Regions from separate parts of the Homo sapiens genome. Here regions 1, 2 and 3 are each linked to region 4. Evidence: promoter capture Hi-C in 16 types of primary human blood cells and fetal thymus (Javierre and others, 2016). All regions are on one chromosome and are shown on one strand. The core of a region is centred on a gene start or on the middle of the fragment in contact, and the rest is flanking DNA. Distances in the headings are between cores, read along the strand shown.

Region 1 (5,196 bases), core at 2,156-4,655, 1.1 Mb before region 4:
GTCATTTTTAATTCATATTTCATTCCAATTCTACAGTGAGATGTCCGTTGTTTTTAATGTTTTCTCATTTGTTGTTCTTTAGCTAGGCAAACATCATAAAGAGCTATAGAAATTGGTGGATTCCATGCCATCAACTAAGTGTGGGGTAGTATTTTTCCTAAATTGCCTGAAATATATTTTGTGTTTCAATCTCAAGAGTGGAGACATTACCAAGGCACTTTGAATTGGGAAGTTTAAGTAGGTGAACTGTATTCCAGTTCTCTTTCAACACTGCCTTAGAAGGAGACCTGTAATTTATGAATGACCCTGGCCCTGGGTCACATTGCAGGGGACAGAAGTGATCATGTGGGTGGGCCAGTGAGCTTTCTGGTTTTGCTGCAGTGCCGCTGAGGACTTGGGGACTCAGGAACATATTGCTGTCCCCTCCTCTGTTCCTGACACCGGCTCCTTCTAAGTCCTTGTGAACACACCCAGAGCAGCCTTCTGTTCTGTAGCTGCCATCCCACAGGCAGGGAGCAGAGCGCAGTTCTACAGAAACTTGCCTTGTCCAGCTGGAAAGAACAATGACCCACATCCTTCAGGTTGGATGCCTTTGTCCAGCCCCCCAAGATTATTTCTTCTATATTCAGAATCTCAAAGGGCTGTGCTCTGGAGGCCCATATATTGTCTCCTTCTCCCTTTCATCCCCCACTGTATCCTTCTGGTCCCCACCTCTTTCCCCCTGCTTTCCTCTCCATTTCCCTCTTTTTTCCTCTCTCCCCTTTTAGTCCAGGTTTCTGGCTCCTCCTGATCTGCATTTCATTTTTTGTTTGTTTCTATCAACTTTTATTTTAGATACAGGGGGTACCATGTGCAAGTTTGTTACATAAGTATGTTGCATGATGGTGAGGTTTGGGGTACAGATTCCATCACTCAGGTAATGAGCACAGTACCAAATGGGTAGTTTTTTAACCCTCTCCCCCCTCCAGTAACCCCCAGTGTCTATTGTTCCCATCTTTATATCTGTGTGCTCAATGTTTAGTTCTCTCAAGAACATGCAGCATTTGGTTTTCTGTTCCTGCATTAATTCGCTTAGGATGATGGCTTCCAGCTGCATCCATGTTGCTGCAAAGGACATTATTTCATTTTTTATGGCTGTGTAGTATTCCATAGTGTATATATTACATTTTCTTTATCCAGTCCGCCGCTGATGGGCACCTAGGTTGATTCTGTGTCTTTGCTATTGTGAATAGTGTGACAGTGAACATATGAGTGCATGTGTCTTTTTGGCAAAATGATTTATTTTCCTTTGGGTTTATATCCAGTAATGGTATTGCTGCATTAAATGGTAGCTCTGTTTTTAGTTATTTGAGAAATCTACAAACTACTTTCCATAGTGGCTGAACTAATTTACATTCCCACCAACAGTGTATATGCATTCCCTTTTTGCCACAGCCTCACCAACATCTGTTGTTTTTTGACTTTTTAATAATAGCCATTCTGACTGTTTTAAGATGGTATCTCGTTGCGGTTTTGATTTGTACTTTTCTGATGATTACTGATGATGAGCATTTTTCATGTTTGTTGGCTACTTGTATGTCCTGAGAAATGTCTGTTCATGTCCTTTGTCCCTTTTTTAATGGGGTTGTTTTTCTGCATTGCATTTTAAAAGGAAAATTCTCAGTCTCCCTTGAAGAAGTGAAGCCTCCTTCTTTATGCACTGGCCACTGTCTAATACCTCCCAGCAATACTCAGAGGAGACTACCTGCTGGAACCTCACTAGAATTGAGAGATCAAATGGTTTTGGCTGTTTTCCCACTGGAGAATATAAAAAATACACAGTTAATTTTAGAAACAAAGGCTGGGCATGATTCCATCCTAAGCAGCAATTCTTCAGGTAGCTGCCCAGAAGGGCCTGGAGCTCCTCTGGACCACTGCTGATCTCCAGATACTCCCTGAGAACCGTCACCTCGGCGTCCAATTCCTGAGTGGTTTTCACTACTAAATAATGACTCAGTGACCCAGTCTCTTGGCCAGGACGCTGTTATGGAATTTGGGTCGTTTGGCACTTCCTGCCTGGTGCCCACCTGTCTAGATTACTGGACCCAAGTAGGTCCAGTATCTCCCTGGTCCAGCCCTGTCTTGAGTCCATCACCTTTATCATTAAGAAGCAGCCAGTAGAGGTTGATGATGATCAGGTACGTTCTCTCCACAATTTTCATCTAAGGAAATCCTCGTCTCCCCTTTTAAAACAAGGCTGGGCTCAGACTGTGGCATCAGTTTTAACATCTTGTAATGCTTATACATTTTTATTGAAGTGTACCAACGTCTTATCTCAGTTTGGACATGAATTTAGAGATATTTCAAATTAGCTAGAGAGAAGAGTTAAAACATAGAAGAACATAAGCTTTTTACATCTATATTTGACAGTGACATATGTTTTTATTATACATGCATTGTGTAGATTCTCTATGAAAATTAAGACCCTTTTAAATAAAAAAACGAAGGCTGGAAATGGGTGTATTCAAAACCCTTTAAAATCCTTAAGGGAGTTTTGCTATAGAATCTCAGGATAAAGACAGACTCCGACAATATTCATCCAGAAATTTTCATGTAAGTCAGTTGTTTGAAACTTGGGATTTATTTTTCTCTTAGAAACTAAGTCTAAGTGGTGGTTACTACATCAGCACACAAAATCCTGTTTAATTCATAAACTAAACTGTAATAATAACTGCGTTTACTTGTTCATATTGGATTTTTATTGACTAAAAGCTTCCAGCCTCTTTTTCATGCAGCCAGGATAACAGTGATACCAAAACCTATCAAAGATTAGACCATCCTACCCCCAAAATATAACAATAGGCCAATATCTCTAAAAAATATGTAACAACAGAAAAAAAAGCTAAATAAAATAGTAGAAATAGAATCTAGCAGTGCATTAGAAGAAATATATACTTTGTCCAGGTAGGGTTTATTCCAGTAATCCACAGATGGTTCAGTACTAAGAATGATATACTTACAATTAATGGATTTCATCCCATCAACAAATCTATATGATCATTTCCATGGATTTCCTAAAATACGTTAGACAAAACCCACCATCCCTTTAAAAATTTTTTTAATAAAACAGAAATGAAGAATTCCCTAACTGGATGAAGTAGATTTATCTCAGCTCAAAAATAAATAGTATGTTTAATGTGGAAAGGATATCATTAACTCCATGGTTATTAGCATACTAAATATTAAATTTAATTGAATTAACCTCTGGCAGGAGCCAATAAAGTTAGGCCAAAAAACATAAAGAACATTAGAGAAACACTAAAAACTCCTACAAAGATAATTCAGCAATTAGTGGAGTACCATGTCAATTTATAGAAATCAATTCCGTTGGCATATATAACTCACAGTTAGTTAAAAGACATAACAGAAGAAGGAAACCTACTTATAATAGAAACTAAAATAATGTTAATAAACAACATAAAATGTTAAGAAAGCTATAAAACATTTCTGAGGGACACAGAAGACTTGACTTTATAAAATTCATACCCTGTTTTTACATAGGAAGATATTATAAAGACACCTTTGATGTCAGTTCTCCTTAAGTTGATTCCATAAATTTAATATGGTTTTAATAAAAATACCAACAGAATTTTAAAACTAGATATAGTACTTCTAGAGTTCATGTGGAAAAGCAGATAAGCATGAATAGCTGGAAAAATTCTAAAGGAGGAAAATAAGGAATGATTAGACCCATAAGGCTTTAAAGCCACAATAATTAAATAGTATGATACTAGCACATGAATAGGAAGATAAATCAAGGAAGAAAATAGTTCAGAAATATGTCCAAATACATGAGAATTTACTTTATGGTAAAGATAGGATCTCAGCTCAATGCAGGAAAAGATAAATCCAGTAAATGGCATTGGGGGACAACTGAGCAGGCATTTAGGAGAAAAAGTTGGACCCATCGTTCAATCCTGACAAAAATATATTCTGGATGGAACAAAACTTTAAAGGTAAAAAAATGCCATAGAAGTACGAGGATAAGCATAGGAAAATTCTTTCATACATCCAAGTGGAGGAAGCTTTTCTAACTATAAATCAAAACCCAGAAGTAATCAAGAAAACAACTAGCAATTAGACTACATACAAAAATTTTAAAATCCTTTCTGATGAAAATCACCGTAAACAAAAGATAAATGACAAACAGGGAAAACATTTGCAACTCTGTTCCCTCATTCAGCTACTATTTATTCAATGCCTACTATATGCCAGCTACTCTTCTAGGTGTTTGAGACATCATAGTGAACAAAACAGAGAGTTAATTGCCCTAATATACAAAGAGTTTCTAGAAATCAGTTTTTAGATAATCAACAGCAAATGGTATAAACAGACAGCTTACAGTTAAGGAAACAAGAAACCCAATACCATGTGAAAAAATTTTCAGCCTTGCTTATAAAAAGTGACGAAACAAGATGAAACTACACTGAAATACAAATTTTCACATATCAGATTAGCAGAAACCCCAAAATTGTATTGCTCACAGTGCTGGTACAAGTGTGGAGCATGGGCAGCCTCATGTGTTACTGGTAGGTGGTAATGACACATGAATAAAGATATAATAGGCTAAAAAGTATGTTGTTTTACTAATAGTTAATTACAATATCAAAGGAAGATACAATGCTAAGTTGGTACTATTGTAGTAGCTATCAGAGTGCAGTTTACCAAACAGCAATTTATCCTACACATAAACTGCAGACCTAAACAATAATACATATACATAGTTATTCTTTGCACCATTGTTTGCAAACAACCTAAATACCAGTCACCTCTATGGCATTCCTCCTCCAAAATTTGTATTCCCTCATCTAAATCATGAGAAAAGACAAAACCAAACTGAAAAAGGACTTCTACAAAATACATCACCAGCCGTCTTCAAAAGCATCAAGGTCATGAAAAACAAGGCAGAAAAACTCCAGAGTGGAGGAGACCAAGGAGGAGTAGGTTCTGGAGAAGACAAAGGACACTTGGGCAATCTAAAGTCTGGAGTTCACTTAACAGTATCAACCCAATGTTAATTTCTTAGTTTGATGAATGCATCGTGATTATATAACATTAGAGGAAGCTGGATGAAAGGTCTCAACCTCAGCACCACTGACATTGAGGGCAGATCATTCTTGGTTGTGGAGACTGTCCTGTGCATTGCAGGATGTTTAA
Region 2 (4,920 bases), core at 97-2,596, 1.0 Mb before region 4:
ATGAGATAATCACTCACTGTTCCTTCAGTTCAGGACTGGAAATCAATGGAAAGGAAGAACAGTTAAGGCAAGCTTTCCCCATATCTTTTAGAAGGTTTTGAAATTTCATTTTAATGTCAAATCAGTTTTATCAGAGGGAATCCTGATTAGTTGCAGTTGTTTGTTTGGGGATATTTATTGACTTTAAAAGAAAACAAAAAAATGATACTAAAAGTCGTCCAAAATGACTATTTTCATAGCTTTTTGCATTTATATGATGGGTAGCATTTTAACAAAATCAATTTGAGTAATAATAACTTGTATTTATATAACACTTAGCAGCTTTTTCAAAGAGCTTTCATAGCTTGCACCATTTGAAGCCACAGAAAGCGTCAACTTCTTTTTTTTTTTTTTTTTTTTTTTTTGAGACGGAGTCTCGCTCTGTCACTCTGTCACTCAGGCTGGAGTGCAGTGGTGCAGTGGCATGATCTCGGCTCACTGCAACCTACACCTCCCGGGTTCAAGCGATTCTCTTGCCTCAGCCTCCTGAGTAGCTGGGACTACAGGTGCACGCCACCACGCCCGGCTAATTTTTTGTATTTTTAGTAGAGATGGGGTTTCGCCATGTTGGCCAGGATGGTCTCGATCTCCTGACCTCATGATCCACCAGCCTCAGCTTCCCAAAGTGCTGGGGTTACAGGCGTGAGCCACTGCACCTGGCCAAACTTCTTGTATAGTGTAACTGAGCAACTATTTTTCCTGCTCCTTGGGTTCTAGATTCTTGCATAAATTTAAGGGTGTACTTTAAGCATTAATCTTAACCATTTCAGTTCATATTATTGTAACCACTCAAGGGATTCTTCCTGCCTGCTGCACAAAGAAAGACCACGGGGCATTGTAACCGCCCAGTGGGTTCACATTGCCCGCTGCCTGGACAGAATCGATTTACCAAGACAGGGGAATTGCAATGGAGAAAGAGTAATTCACATAGAGCCAACTGTGTGGGAGACCAGAGTTTTATTATTAAATCAGTCTCCCCGAGCATCCAGGGATCAGTTTTTAAAGATAATTTCGCGGGTAAGGGCTTGAGAAGTGGGGAGTGCTGATTGCTCAGGTTGGAGATGGAATCATAGGGGGTTGAAGTGAGGTTTTCTTGCTGTCTTTTGTTCCTGGGTAGGATGGCAGAACTGGTTGAGCCAGATTACGGGTCTGGGTGGTGTCAGCTGATCCATCAAGTGCAGGGTCTGCAAAATATCTCAAGCGCTGATCTTAGGTTTTACAATAGTGATGTTATCCCAAGGAGCAATTTGGGGAGGTTCAGACTCTGAGCCAGAGGCTGCACAACCCCTAAACTATAATTTCTAACCACTAGCTAAGTTGTTAGTCCTGCAGAGGCAGACTCGTCCCCAGGCAAGAAGGGGGTCTTTTTGGGAAAGGGCTGCTATCAATTTTGTTTCAGAGTCACACCATGAACTGAATTCTTTCCCAAAGTTAGTTCAGCCTATGTCCAGGAATGAACAAAGACAGCCTAAAGGTTAGAAGCAAGATGGAGTTGATTAGGTCTGATTTTATTCACTGTCATAATTTCCTCAGTTATAATTTTGCAAAGGCGGTTTCAGCATTGTAGTAAAGAAAGAGTTTAAGTAGACACGAGGCTGGCCACACCATGTGGGAGATGGAATTAGTACTGAAATAATCTCCTCCAAAGCTCATAGGTTACGGGTTTTTCAAAGGCAGTTTAGGGGAATGGGTGGAGGTGGCTAGGCTTGCTGCTGATTGTTTGAGGAGGAGATGAGATCAAAGTGTCCTTTGATTTCAAAAATACAATGAGGGATAAGTTGATAGGATGTCTGGGAATTTGCTTCAAAATAAGCTGGGGAGGAAAAATGGCAGGAGGGGGGGTAGAAGATGTATAAATAAAACTTGATTGGCCATGAACAGACAATTGTTGAAATGGAATATTGGGTACATGGGTGGTTTTATTATAGTGTTCTCACTATACTTGTATAAAATTTAAGTTTTCCATAATAAAGTTTTTCTTTGTTAAGAAAAACAAAGCAGAGTGAGATTCTAAATTGAAGTTGCCAATGGCCTATTGTTCTTTAAGTCTGCTCAGTTAATTCAGTTAAGGAAGTTATTTGAAAACAGGGTGCTAATGACGCGGCTTTGTTTTCTGGGGTAAATACCCTGGGTTCGGTGTCTCACACGGAGAAGATTAACGACAGGGACACACACGTGGAGTTCAGGAGAGGAAAGTTTAATAGGCAGAAGAAAGGAGAGAGGAGAGCAGCTCTTTCTCTTGCGAGAGGAGAGCAGCTCTCTCTCTTGCAAGAGAGGCGTCCAAAAATGGGACAAGTGGCGGACTGCAGCAGATTTTATAGGCAGGCTTGAGGAGGCGGTGTCTGATTTACATAGGGGCCACAGATTGGTTCGACCAGGTGTGACATTTACATAGCACGCAGGAAGGCTGGTCGCCCCACCCTAATCTTATTTTGCAAAGGGGCTTTCTACTTGGCCAGTGCCATCTTGTCTGCTCCTTACTGTACACTTAGCTGGCAAAGGGAAGATGAAGCCGCCATTTGGAACATGCCTAGTCCTATGTAGTATTTTTCTATTGGCACAACTGCCAGCATTCACCTGTGCAAGCTTCCAGCTTGCTTGTCTATGTCTGCAGCTCAATTTTACAGGCTGCTCTTTGTTAGGAAAGAAAATGATTTGGGGGCTGCTTTTTATTAAAAGGAAAACCTTACTGAGGACTCCCATATCCTCACTATCTGCCTAAGTAATTTCTTCTTAACTCCTATATCACTATTATTTAGCTCAAGGCACCATCAAGATAATCCCTTGAAAGTTGATTACCAGTCCATGTTTGATATCCTGAGTCAAACATTTGCATCTCTTAAATAAGGTGCATTTTGACATACATGCTCCGTTCAAAAATGTATATACACAAACACACACATAAAACTATAAGCAGGCCAGATGCAGTGGCTCACACCTGTTATCCCAGCACTTTGCGAGGCCATTAAGCAGGAGGATTGCTTGAGTCCAGGAGTTTGAGACCAGCCCAGGTAATATAGTGAGAACCCCCCCCCCCGCCCCCGCCAACCCCCATCTCTAAAAAAAATAAAGTTAGCCAGGGATGGTCGGGCACAGTGGCTCACACCTGTAATCCCAGCACTTTGGGAGGCTTGAGGTGGGAGGATCACTTGAGATCAGGGATTCAAGAACAGCCTGGCCAACATGGTAAAACCCTATCTCTATGAAAAATACAAAAAAGAGCCTCTGCACAGGTCGGAGGGAAAGAAAGGAGTTGGAAGATCTGAAGCCCACGTAGCTGGTGGGCAGGCAGGAGTGCAAATGGATGTGAGGCCGAGATCTTAGCAGGCCCAGAGCACATGGCCTTGCAGCCACACCACAGTCATGGTTGCACAAAGGATGTCCTGAACATCTGTTTGAATGTGTCTCAAGTACTCAGACTAAACACTTCTAAATCTGTAGTGGAATGAATGTGTAACCAAGAAGAATTGATTTTTTTTTTTTCAAAATTTCAGAATGGAATAGGGATAGTTTTCAGGGAAAATGGATGAAGCAGTATTGTGGTGGGGAAAGTGTTCAAAGTTAATATTACCATAACTTCAGAACACCATAGTGAATACCTTGGAAAGCATCATCTTCATCTTCTGAGACTTTGACTGTGACCATGTGAAAGGTAGAGAGAGAATTCAGGATTAACTTTGTCTGTTTTCCCATGTTCAAGGGCCATTGTGTTACACCTAAAATTGGCAAAGAGTCATAGATTATATTTAAGCTCAGATTTCAAAACTGTCCATGACTATTTTGGCAGGATGTATCTTGGGTTTTTTGTTTTGTTTTTGTTTTTGTTTTTTTGTTGTTGTTGTTTTGTATGCAATCTAGATGCAGATGTTTGTTTTTAGTCAGCCTGGAGGGAGCTTTAATGTTGGGGTTCTTCGTACATGTAAATACCATGCTGGATAATTAATTGGGATTTCCTGGAGCAATTTTTTTTTTTTTAAGAAACTGTACTGTAAACAGTTTTTCATTCTTGTGGATAAAGAGAAGCTTTTCTCTGGATTTCTAATATTCGCCAACCCTGAGGGAAAGGCAAAGCATGTGAGTCAGTCCTCAGGACCCTCCCTGCCCTCCACTGAGGGGACCAATGAGTTTGAGGAACAAGAGTGGATAAACCGTTGACTCTCATCTGCCCTCCCTCCCTCCACCTCAGGGTGTGTACTGCTAGTCTGAATATTGTCCTGCTTAGAGGTTTCTCCATCATCTTAAGTTTCTGTTGTTTACAGCTTTCCCTCCTCTGCCCTCATCCCTCTAGATTATTAAGTTCCTGCAACTTAACTGGGAACTGATCAAGATTTCAAGCTAAAGATGGTGGTGATGAACAGCCTGAGGGTCATTCTTCAAGCCTCTCCAGGCAAATTGCTGTGGAGAAAGTTCCAGATTCCGAGATTCATGCCAGCGAGGCCCTGCAGCCTCTATACTTGTACTTACAAAACCCGGAACCGAGCCTGTGAGTACACCACTTCCTTAAAGAGAACAAAAAGGGCTCCAGCCTGAGTGACAGAGTGAAATCTCATCTCTTAGAAAAAAAGAGAAAAGAAAAGAGGGAGCAAGTGTGCAAGAGCAAAAATACTCATCTTTATAATAATCACACATGTTAAACATTTGTAGCTATGCTGTCTTTGGCTTTCCAGTGTAGGATTATATGCCTTATGAACTGTGAGAATAACTGTTTCTCTGTTGATTCATGAAAGTAAATGTAGAATGTTCTTTCTTGACTAATTTTAGCATGTTAAAATGATGTCATGCAGAAACTGGACAAGAGACAGATCCCGGTTTTTAATATTTTGGAACCTGTTGTTTATTATTTCTTGGTAGCAATTGTCTTTTTTTTTTTCTTTTAAACAA
Region 3 (4,855 bases), core at 1,992-4,491, 1.1 Mb before region 4:
ACAATCTCTTTTGAATGATGATTTCTCGATGTTTGTTGTATCATCTTTTTAAAAAGAGCAATATAAATTCTTCTTAGAAAATACAAAGAAGCACAAGGAGAAAAGTAAAAATCACCTGTAATTCCACCAGCGTCAAAGAATGACCAATGTTAATGTTTTCTAAATATTTGGAACATACCATTCTAAGCCTTGTGTTTTCTTTTGTGTGTATATACATAAATTCTTAAAAACAAAACGAATCATGCTATTATACAGCTTTGTCATCTTCTTTGCTGAACTTAACTGTGTTCTGTTTTTGTTTTTTTTTGTTTTTTTTTTTTTGTTGTTGTTGTTGTTTTTATAGAGATAGGATCTTACTCTGTTGCCCAGGCTGGAGTGCAGTGGCACCATCATAGCTCAGTGCAGCCTCGACCTCCTGGGTTCAAGCAACCCTCCTGCCTCAGCCGCCCTCCGCCCCCACAATAGCTGGGAGTACAGGCACATGCCACCATACCCAGCTAATTTTAAACTTTTTTTGAATGGATGGGGTCTTGCTTATATTGCCCAGGCTGGTCTCGAATTCCTGAGCTCAAGCAATCTTCCTGTCTCAGCCTTCTTGATTGCTAGAATTACAGACCTGAGCACTGCATCCGATCCACAGTGTTACTTTGAGTGTATTCCCACATCTTTTAATAACTGTCTAATATTTCATTCATTTTATAGATCTGTTGTATGCTTTTAAATTTATTTTTTATTTTTTTAAATTACAGCAAGCAATGCTATAATAAATATTCTGGAAACTGACAAATTTTTATTCACTTCTATTAATATCTTTGGTGTAAATTTAAATTTTGGAGTCAAAAGGTATAGAAACATGTAGGGTTTTAGTATGTGTTAATTTCCTTTCAAAAGGATTATGTCAGTGTACAGATTATTTGCTGTATATGAGTGTCCATTTTCCAGGATCCCGCGCCATATATTATTGGCTCTCAAAACTCTTTTGGCAAAACAAGTGGTATAGCAGTATGTAAATACTGCTTCCATTTGCAATCATTTGTTTCATAGTACAACTGAACATTTTTATATGTTGAATGGTCATTTGTATTTCTTTTTCTGCTTATTTGATCCTTTGCACTTTTTCTGCCAAAATTTTCATTATTCTCAATTTTTTTTTGCATGAATTTGTGTGTGCACAGGCATTCCTTTTTTTTTTTTTTCTTTTTGAGACAGAGTCTTGCTCTGTCAGGCTGGAGTGCAGTGGCTCAATCTCGGCTCACTGCAACCTCCACCTCCCAGGTTCAAGCGATTCTCCTGCCTCAGCCACCTGAGTAGCTGGGATTACAGGCACACCACCATGCCTGCCTAATCTTTGTATTTTTAGTAGAGCTGGGGTTTCACCGTGTTGGCCAGGCTGGTCTCGAACTCCTGACCTCAGGTGATCCACCCACCCCAGCCTCCCAAACTGCTGGGATGACAGGCATGAGCCTCCACACCCTGCTGTACAGACATTCTTTGCCAGTTGTTAGTTCCCCTTTCAATTTGATATATGATTTTTTTGCATTTTCCCAGAAAGCAATCCTATTATTTCATGTCATCTGCATATACTTTAAAGTTTCTCTCCTGCTTTTCAATAGTAATACCTAGTTGTTGATGTTGTTGTTTTGTCTCATTGTAGTGGCACTATCACAACAGAGTGACATAATGGTGGGATAACATGGACACTTGTCTTCTTCCTTACTGTAATGGGACTATTTCTACTCCACATAATCTGGTGAGTCACTGTTAAATATGATTTGTTTTCTGATAAAAGTATCCTTTTATTTCCAGTTTACTAAAAATTATTTTAATCAGTAATCAATTTTGAAATGTAACTATCTTTTCAGTATGTATTATTATGATCATTGGGTTTTTTAATCATTTAGTACTTTTATACTGATAAATTTCTTTACATTGATCTAACCCTTATATAAGTTAATTTTTATTTCAATTTTTCATTATTTGATTTTGACTATTTTAGTTATTTTCAGCAAGCTACTAGACATATTTTGCTAGGTTTTTCCTAAGATTTTTAGCTCTGTTTTCATGAAGAATAGCATATAGGTTTCTTTTCAGGAGCTAATTCTTGAAGATTTTTCCTTTTTATTGCCACCTTGAATATGGTATAGAAATATTTCTAGCATTTTCTGTGTTTTGAAATACTTTAAAAAGCATATGAAATAAACACTTTATGGATAAATAATCTGAATCATGCATATTTGTGGTGAGAAGTTCTCTGAAAACTTCTCATTTCTTCCACGGTCATTTGTATCAGATTTCATGAATCTTTCTAAATCCATTTAGACTCTACAATTTCCAAGACAATCCTTTAATTCATTCAGATTTTTCAGTATTCTCATGAGCATTATAGGATATTTTCTATAAAATATCTGTTTTTGTTGCTATGTTCTCTTTATATTTGCTAGTGAATACATTACTTTTTTCTCAGTTTCCCATTGGACATGCCAGAAGTTTTGCTAGTTTTTTGTTGTTATTTTTTCAAAGAACGTGCTCTTGGATTAATTTTCACTTTTATTCTTTCTGTTTCCTGATTCATTCATCTTAGTTCATTGATTAAGTTATAGTTGTTTTGCTGTTTTGTTTATAACTCTTGAGTTGACTAATAAGCTTGTTTACTTTTGGTCTTAGTTAATAATGAAAACATCTGTGGCTATGGATTTTCCTCCGAGTACTACTCTGGCTATATGACATAAGAAATATAGATGTATAGTAATCTCATTATCATTAATTTTCAGAATAGTCTATAATAACAGTTTTCATTTTTTCCTATAACCCAGTTATTACATTTAAAAGTATTTTCTAAATTTCTAAGTTCTTTTCAGATTTAACTCTAAATATATATGTATCATATTTTAAATATTGTTCTTATTAATCTCAAGCACATGAATACATATTTAATCTTAGAGTTTATGGGAGGAAATCTGTACAGTTTACTTTTAATATCCAAATATATTTTGTAAATAACTTCAAATAAGCATCTGACAATATTCATTTATTATTGTTATTTGCTCTGGCATTCTCCTTTTTTTTTTTTCTTTTTTTAAATTTCAACTTTTATCTTAGATTTTCGGGGGCACATGTACAGGCTTGTTTGTTACAAGGGTATATTGTGTGATCCTGAGGTTTGGGGTATGATTGAACTCATCACCCAGTGAGCATAGTACTCAGTAGGTGATTTTTCAACCCTTGTCCCCCACCCTCCTCCTCTTGTCATCCCAGTGTCTATTGTTGACAATATTCTTTTTAAAGGAATTGTAAGTGAATATTGCACTGTTACATTTCTGTTTTTAAAATAAAAGCATTGTCTTGACTTTCACATTATTTTAAAGCAGATATATCATATTAATATGATTAATACTATTAAAGGGCATGAAGTGGAAACTTTCTTAAGGTAGTAAGATTTTTATATCAGGATAAAGCTAATTCTTGCCCATGGGCTGATGTACTCATATGTTTAGATTTGTTTGACCACAGCAAAAAAAAATTGCTAAATGTGCGGCCCAAAGTGGCAAGATTTCAGTTAATGACTTGTATGGGTCCTATGAGATAAATAAAAAGACAAAAGCTCAAATGACAAATTTGCGACACTGCCAATAACTTGATTTCAAATATGAAGACACCACAGGTGACATGTCACATAGAAGGTACAAAAAACAAATTCATTGTTAAATAGCTTGATGGAGATCTCAGTAAAATAAATAGAAAATGGAACTAGATACTAGGATTCTTGCCTCTCAAGATATTATCTGTATTTTTTTAAACTTTTCAAAATCTTGCACAAATTTAGTGATTGTCTTGATGTGCAAGCTTTTTTTGTTTGTTTGTTTGTTTTTGAGACAGAGTCTTGCTTCGTCACCCAGGCTGGAGTGTAGTGGCACAATCGTGACTCACTGCAGCCTCCGCCTCCTGGGTTCAAGCAATTCTTGTGCTTCAGACTCCCAAGTAGCTGGGACTACAGGTGCACACCACCACGCCCAGCTAATTTTTGTATTTTTTGTAGAGACAGGGTTTCACCATGTTGGCTAGGCTGATCTCGACCTCCTGACCTCAAGTGATCTGCCTGCCTCAGCCTCCCAAAGTGCTAGGATTACAGGCATGAGCCACCATGTACAAGTTTTAAGTAGTAAGTTTTCAGAATCTTTATATCTGTGTAACTTGCTTCATAAACTGCTCATTTCAGCAACTTCACATAAGGGAGCTTAATAACTTATTAGTAACTGTGGTAATGATGACAAATAAAGCAGTTTGAATCATTCTGAATATGTTACTATTTACTTCCAAATGTTCAGAGTTTAGAGCATGTAGATTTAAAAGTTCAGATGACTGTTGCCATGAGCCACACAAAAGGGCACCAAGTCTCCTGAGATGGGAAAAAGAAATTGATTTCTCTGTGTTTTTTATACTCCACAACACTCTTGAAAAGCACTTTCTGGGCACATAACTATTGATCTACTGCTCTGGGGTAAATATGAGATCACATGAAAATGAAACGTGTCATTCTTTTGATTCATGCAAGATGCCTTTTAAAGTTCATCAGAGTCATAAAAGCATGTGGGCATATGTAGGCTCCATTCACCTGCAATAAAACGAGAATTAGGGAGGGCTGATGTTCCTTTTAAATTTGACTCTGAGTATTCTGTTTCATTATCACAGAAATGTAGTAAACATATAATGCCTAAAACTAGTATTATAAATTGTGAAACCATTTCAAATGTGATATTACTCTGTAAATTTTTATTGGGTTTTGGGAAATTTATCTGGCTGTGACACATTAAAAGAAATCAAATAAAACCTTTAATGGCTGAATATGGAAACGTTT
Region 4 (5,137 bases), core at 1,921-4,420:
CCTCAGCCTCCCCGAGTAGCTGGGACTACAGGCACACGCCACCATGCCCAGCTGATTTTTTTTTTTTTTTTTTGTATTTTTAGAAGAGACGAGGTTTCACCATGTTGGTCAGGCTGGTTTCAAACCCCTGACCTCAGGTGATCCGCCCTCCTCTGCCTCCCAAAGTACTGGGATTACAGGCGTGAGCCACAGCGCCCGGCTTTTTTATTTGATAACTTTATTTATTTAGAGACGAGGTCTCGCTTTGTCGCCTACGCTGGTTTCAAACTCCGGGGCTCAGGCGATGCTCTTGCCTCAGCCTCCTAAACTGCTGAGATTACAGGTGTGAGCCACGCCTGCAGGCACAGTTAAAAGACAATAGTCCTGGCGCAAAGGTGAGATCAATGTAAACAGAACATTGGATGACCCTTAAAGTCTTGGACATAAAGAAAGGATAGGCCAGGCATTGCGGCTCAAGCCCGTAATCCCAGCACTTTGGGAGGACGAGTTGGGCAGAGGACGAGTCGGGCAGAGCACTTGTGGCCAGGAGTTTGAGAGCAGCCTGGCCAACATGGCGAAACCCCATCTCTACTAAAAATGCAAAAATTAGCCGGGTGTGGTGGTGCACGCCAGTAATCCCAGCTACTAGGGAGGCTGAGACACGAGAATTCCTTGAACCTGGGAGGTGCAGATTGCAGTGGGCTGAGATCATGCCACTGCACTCCAGCCTGGGCGACAGAGCAAGACTCTGCATTAAAAAAAAAAAAAAAAAGAGGCCAGGCACGGTGGCTCAGGCCTGTAATCCCAGCACTTTGGGAGGCCGAGGTGGACGGATCACAAGGTCAAGAGATGAAGACCATTCTGGCGAACGTGGTGAAACCCCCTCTCTACTAAAAATAGAAAAATTAGCTGGGCGTGGTGGGGCGCGCCTGTAATCCCAGCTACTTGGGAGGCTGAGGCAGGAGAATCACTTGAACCCGGGAGGCAGAGGTTGCAGTGAGCCGAGATTGGCCACTGCACTCCAGCTTGGGCAACAAGAGCAAAACTCTGTCTCAAAAAAAAAAAAAAAAAAAAAGATATGCATTTAATTCAATTAAATATTTTTCATTTCTCTGAAGGCTTGGGGTTAATGGCATAGTTCTTTTCTTTTCTTTTTATTTTTTGAGACGGAGTCTCGCTCTTGTTGCCCAGGCTAGAGTGCAATGGCGTGATCCCGGCTTACTGCAACCTCCGCCTCCCGGGTTCAAGCGATTCTCCTGCCTCAGCCTCCCTAGTAGCTGGGATTGCAGGCACGTGTCACCACGCCTGGCTAATTCTATTTTTAGCACAGACCGGGTTTCACCACGTTGGTCAGGCTGGTCTTGAACTTCTGACCTCAGGTGATCCGCCCGCCTCGGCCTCCCAAAGTGCCGGGGTTACAGGCGTGAGCCACCGTGGCCGGCCTCTTTCCTTAATAAAGATAACTTTATTGATTTTTTTCATTCCATACATACTTAAACAATATAGAAAATCATGAAATTTGAAACCAGCCTGGGCAACATAATGCCCCATCTCTAAAAAAAAATTTTTTTTTGAGGAATAACTTACTTTTGTGTGTGTGTGTGTGATGGAGTTTCTCCTCACCCAGGCTGGAGTGTTCAATGGCACGATCTTGGCTCACTGCAACCTCTGCTGCCCGGGTTCAAGCGATTCTCCTGTCTCAGATCCCAAATAGCTGGAATTACAGAAGCCCACCACCGGCTGGGGGCGGTTGCTCACACCTGTAATCCCAGCACTTTGGGAGGCCGAGGAGGGCAGATCAGGGGGTCAGAAGTTCAAGACCAGCCTGGCCAACATGGTGAAACCCCTCTCTCTACTAAAAATACAAAAATTAGCCCAGCGTGGTGGCACGTGCCTGCAATCCCAGCTACTCGGGAGGCTGAGGCAGGAGAATTGCTTGAACCTGGGAGGCGGAGGTTGCAGTGAGCTGAGATCGTGCCACTGCACTCCAGCTTTGGGTGACAGCAAGACTCCGTCTTGGGAAAACAAAAACAAAGAAAAAAGAAAAGCCCACCACCACCACCATGCCCGGCTAATTTTTGTATTTTTAGTAGAGACGGAGTTTCACTGTGTTGGCCAGGCTGGTCTGGAACTCCTGACCTTGTGATCCACCCGCCTCGGTCCCCCAAGGTGTTGGCATTACAGGCGTGAGCCACCGCGCCCGGCCTCATAATGAATTATTTAAGACAATATATCAGGATTTCATGATGGTCTGTGCCTTTCAGAAGCTCGGCCATTGGAGATCTGGTTCCATCAGATGGAAATAGGGAATATTCCTGAGGAAATCTCCCCTCTCCCCCCCAACATCATATCAATAAAAAAAAAAATTCGGTTCAGCAAACCGAGTTTGTTGAAAAAATTTAGGTAATGAAACGAGTAAATGGGGTGGGAGAAAGCAGGATACATTCAACATGAATGAAGTGCCAAGTAAGTGTGCAGAAGCCGGGGCGGTTCAACCAAGGTGAATAGAATGCGGCACCTATCCCGCGGGAGCTCGGGACAAGTAAACCGTGGTAACAACTCTGGTGGAGGGGCAGGGCTCGGGGCAGGTGCCCGAGCACGAAACTTCAAATTCTAAGAGCCAATACACCTTCCGTCTTGAAAGTCGTGAAGTATTTTCCCTTATCCCCAAATCATTCGCGCCCAATTCCTAAGAACGGCAACAAAAACAAAAACACAAGAATGTGTCGCCGATCGTGCTCCTTCTCAAACACGGGGATATTTCTAAACTTTCCGCGAAAGATCATAACGAGTACCTTCCTATAGCCAGACATCGCCCCCAGAAACCGCAAGTCCCACTAGGATGCACACGAAGCACACTGGGTGCAGCACTCTCCCCTTTTCAGAACGCCGCCTTATGTCCCAATCCCGATCCGAGCCTGCGAGCTGTGGCCGCACGCCCTGCTGGGACTTGTAGTCCACTCCCGAGTCCCATTCCCGATCCGCGCAGACTCACACGGCCTCTATCTGCCCTTCGGTCTTGCTGAAGCCCAGCCCAGTATTCAATGCTCCCCATCCCCATCTCGCTCCGTCCCCTCGGGGGCCAACCTCCTCCGGTCACGTGGGAAGTCTCACATGCGGCGATTGGTCGTGGGGGCTCGGGGGCGGGGCGAAAGGCCCTGCGAGATTCTGTGCCCCTTGTCGGGCCGCTTGTTTGGCTGCTGCCGTCACCTCATGGCGACGCGGGTAGAGGAGGCAGCGCGGGGAAGAGGCGGCGGCGCCGAAGAGGCGACTGAGGCCGGACGGGGCGGACGGCGACGCAGCCCGCGGCAGAAGGTCAGTCAGGGGGACGCCCTCGTTGTTGTCGGGCCCGGGGGATGTTTGGGCTCCCTTTTTCAGGGTCCACCTCTTCTCTCTCCCTGGTTACCTATAGCCACGGGACGAACATCCGGTCTTCTTCCCTCCCGGGGGTGACGACAGTGGGAGCAGGTGGGGGGGGGTGGGACCGCGATGGATGGGGTGGGAAGGGACGACGGTTGGGGTTTGGCGGCGCGCGGCGGGGAAGCCGGGAGGGAGGGCAGGGGGCGCACGCGGTTCTAAGGGAGAAGGGGTGCGAGGCGGGGGTGCGCCAGGTGTGACAGCCACGTGCGGCCAGCACCGCGGGGATCCGGGCGCCAGGCGTTCCTTCTCCCAGTCACCGCCGTCACCGTGCTCCCGGCGCTGAGCGCCGCCGTCCGGGGGCTCGCTGGGGTCGTGGGCTCGCCCTCCTGGCGTCGGGCAGGTGCGCAGGGCGCGCTGCGGGGTGCCCCCGGGCTGCTCAGGCTAGGCTGTTGCGCAGTAAGATAACCGCGCGGGAGCCGGGGTGTGCTTGGCCCCCCTTCCCCCGCCCCCCTGCGCTCCCCGCCACTGCGCGGGCGGGCAGGCGAGCGGGTGAGTGTCGCAGGGCCGGTGCGAGCGGGACGCTCGGCCCCCGGGACCTAGACCCCGGGGCTCCGAGGGCTTGGCTGCACGTGGGGCCGGGGATGGATGGGGAGGCGATGCTGGAGGACCTCGGTCCTGCAGAGTTGGGATATCGCATGATAGCTGGTCCTCCCAGTCCTATTTACCACCCTCCTCTTTTTTCCCCTCTTTTTTTTCTTTCATTTATTATTTTTTTAATTTGATGAGTGGAAACTTGAATGCCTTCCCGACCCTGGCCTTGGGTCTTTCTTAATCTGGGAAACAGGCCGGACTGTTCCCCTTGCCTTACTTGACTCACGTCAAGGAGTTTTCAGTCCCTCCCTAGATACAGGAAAATTGAGACCTCTTTCAGAACGGGACAATTCCACTTGTTCTGGAGCTCAGTGGGTGGAGTTTGAAAAAGATTGCACAACGAACGGGGTACAGGGTTTTCGGGGCCCTGGAATGGATAATTGCGGGGACTGAGACTGGGAAGGTGGGAACCCCATCTCTTTTTTTCCTTGCAGGTGAACATACTGAAACGTTCGACTTGTTGGATATCTTGCTTGATCACCGAGGGCTATTTAATATTACTTAATTATGTATTTGAACACTCTTAACTCCTGTATGAAATTACGAAATAATATTTTTCTAATGCAATTCATAAACTTCAAATGGGAGAACAAAGGTCCAGTTTACGTCTGAGCAGAGTGTTAAGAATTAGCTTTTTGGGGCCTGTTTCTAAGGTCAGGTATTTTCATGTTTCTGCATGACAGTGTTACTACTTCTCAATTACCTCTCTTTCTTTCTCTCCCTCTCTTTGTATTCTAAAAGAAAGATCCAGTGCTTGCAGGACTGAAAAAGAAGCTGTGGACCAATGTCCTGTAAGGGATTCAACACCATCACTTTGGACACTTCACTTATTCCCTAAGGGTGGAGTGCCAATCTCAGTGTTTGATTTCGTAGGTTCCCCAGGGGAGGAGGACTCTGATAAAAAGCCACTGCAATTGAGGATATAAGTTCCCTTTTATGACACTGGGATAAGGACAAAAAGTCGTTGAATTAGGAACTGAGGTTTAATCAACTAGCATTTAAAATAACCAAGATAGGAGGTAATGACCCTTTGAGGTGCAGAGCTCTGGTTAACAGCTGGATAGGAATAGTCATGTGTGTGTCTACTCATTTTTGTTTATGTACCTCATACTCCATTCTTCTTTGCTTATGCTCTTCTGAGCATCTT

What was found. The method cuts DNA at HindIII sites, captures the fragments that hold promoters and counts their contacts. A CHiCAGO score of 5 or more calls a contact.
Region 1: a contact is called between a fragment that was not itself captured here and the fragment with the promoter of TXLNG in region 4, in 2 of 17 cell types (total CD8 T cells and total CD4 T cells). The highest score is 6.5, in total CD8 T cells.
Region 2: a contact is called between a fragment that was not itself captured here and the fragment with the promoter of TXLNG in region 4, in 2 of 17 cell types (naive CD8 T cells and fetal thymus). The highest score is 6.8, in naive CD8 T cells.
Region 3: a contact is called between a fragment that was not itself captured here and the fragment with the promoter of TXLNG in region 4, in 2 of 17 cell types (total CD4 T cells and activated CD4 T cells). The highest score is 7.0, in total CD4 T cells.

The regions. Positions count from the first base shown.
Region 1 is chrX:15,695,589-15,700,784 of GRCh38, forward strand. The region is part of intron 3 of CA5BP1-CA5B (CA5BP1-CA5B readthrough); the gene reads left to right. It also overlaps the pseudogene CA5BP1. Among named protein-coding and RNA genes, the nearest start is that of CA5BP1-CA5B, 23 kb to the left of the region's middle. The HindIII fragment of the contact is 1,313 bases long and covers 2,750-4,062 here.
Region 2 is chrX:15,745,644-15,750,563 of GRCh38, forward strand. CA5B (carbonic anhydrase 5B) reads left to right here. Exons shown (of 8, transcript NM_007220.4): 2 at 4,328-4,522. The coding sequence starts at 4,381. CA5BP1-CA5B (CA5BP1-CA5B readthrough) reads left to right here. Exons shown (of 12, transcript NR_160544.1): 5 at 4,328-4,522. Among named protein-coding and RNA genes, the nearest start is that of CA5B, 9.8 kb to the left of the region's middle. RefSeq lists an enhancer at 1,527-2,388. The HindIII fragment of the contact is 2,553 bases long and covers 71-2,623 here.
Region 3 is chrX:15,719,843-15,724,697 of GRCh38, forward strand. It overlaps CA5BP1-CA5B (CA5BP1-CA5B readthrough), which reads left to right. Exons shown (of 12, transcript NR_160544.1): 4 at 1,655-1,750. Among named protein-coding and RNA genes, the nearest start is that of CA5B, 16 kb to the right of the region's middle. The HindIII fragment of the contact is 1,200 bases long and covers 2,642-3,841 here.
Region 4 is chrX:16,783,296-16,788,432 of GRCh38, forward strand. TXLNG (taxilin gamma) reads left to right here and starts at 3,171. Exons shown (of 10, transcript NM_018360.3): 1 at 3,171-3,294. The coding sequence starts at 3,193. LOC124905250 (a long non-coding RNA gene) reads right to left here and starts at 2,971. Exons shown (of 2, transcript XR_007068398.1): 1 at 2,775-2,971; 2 at 2,365-2,668. RefSeq lists enhancers at 2,567-2,766, 2,738-3,470 and a silencer at 3,517-3,956. The HindIII fragment of the contact is 8,203 bases long and covers 1-5,137 here.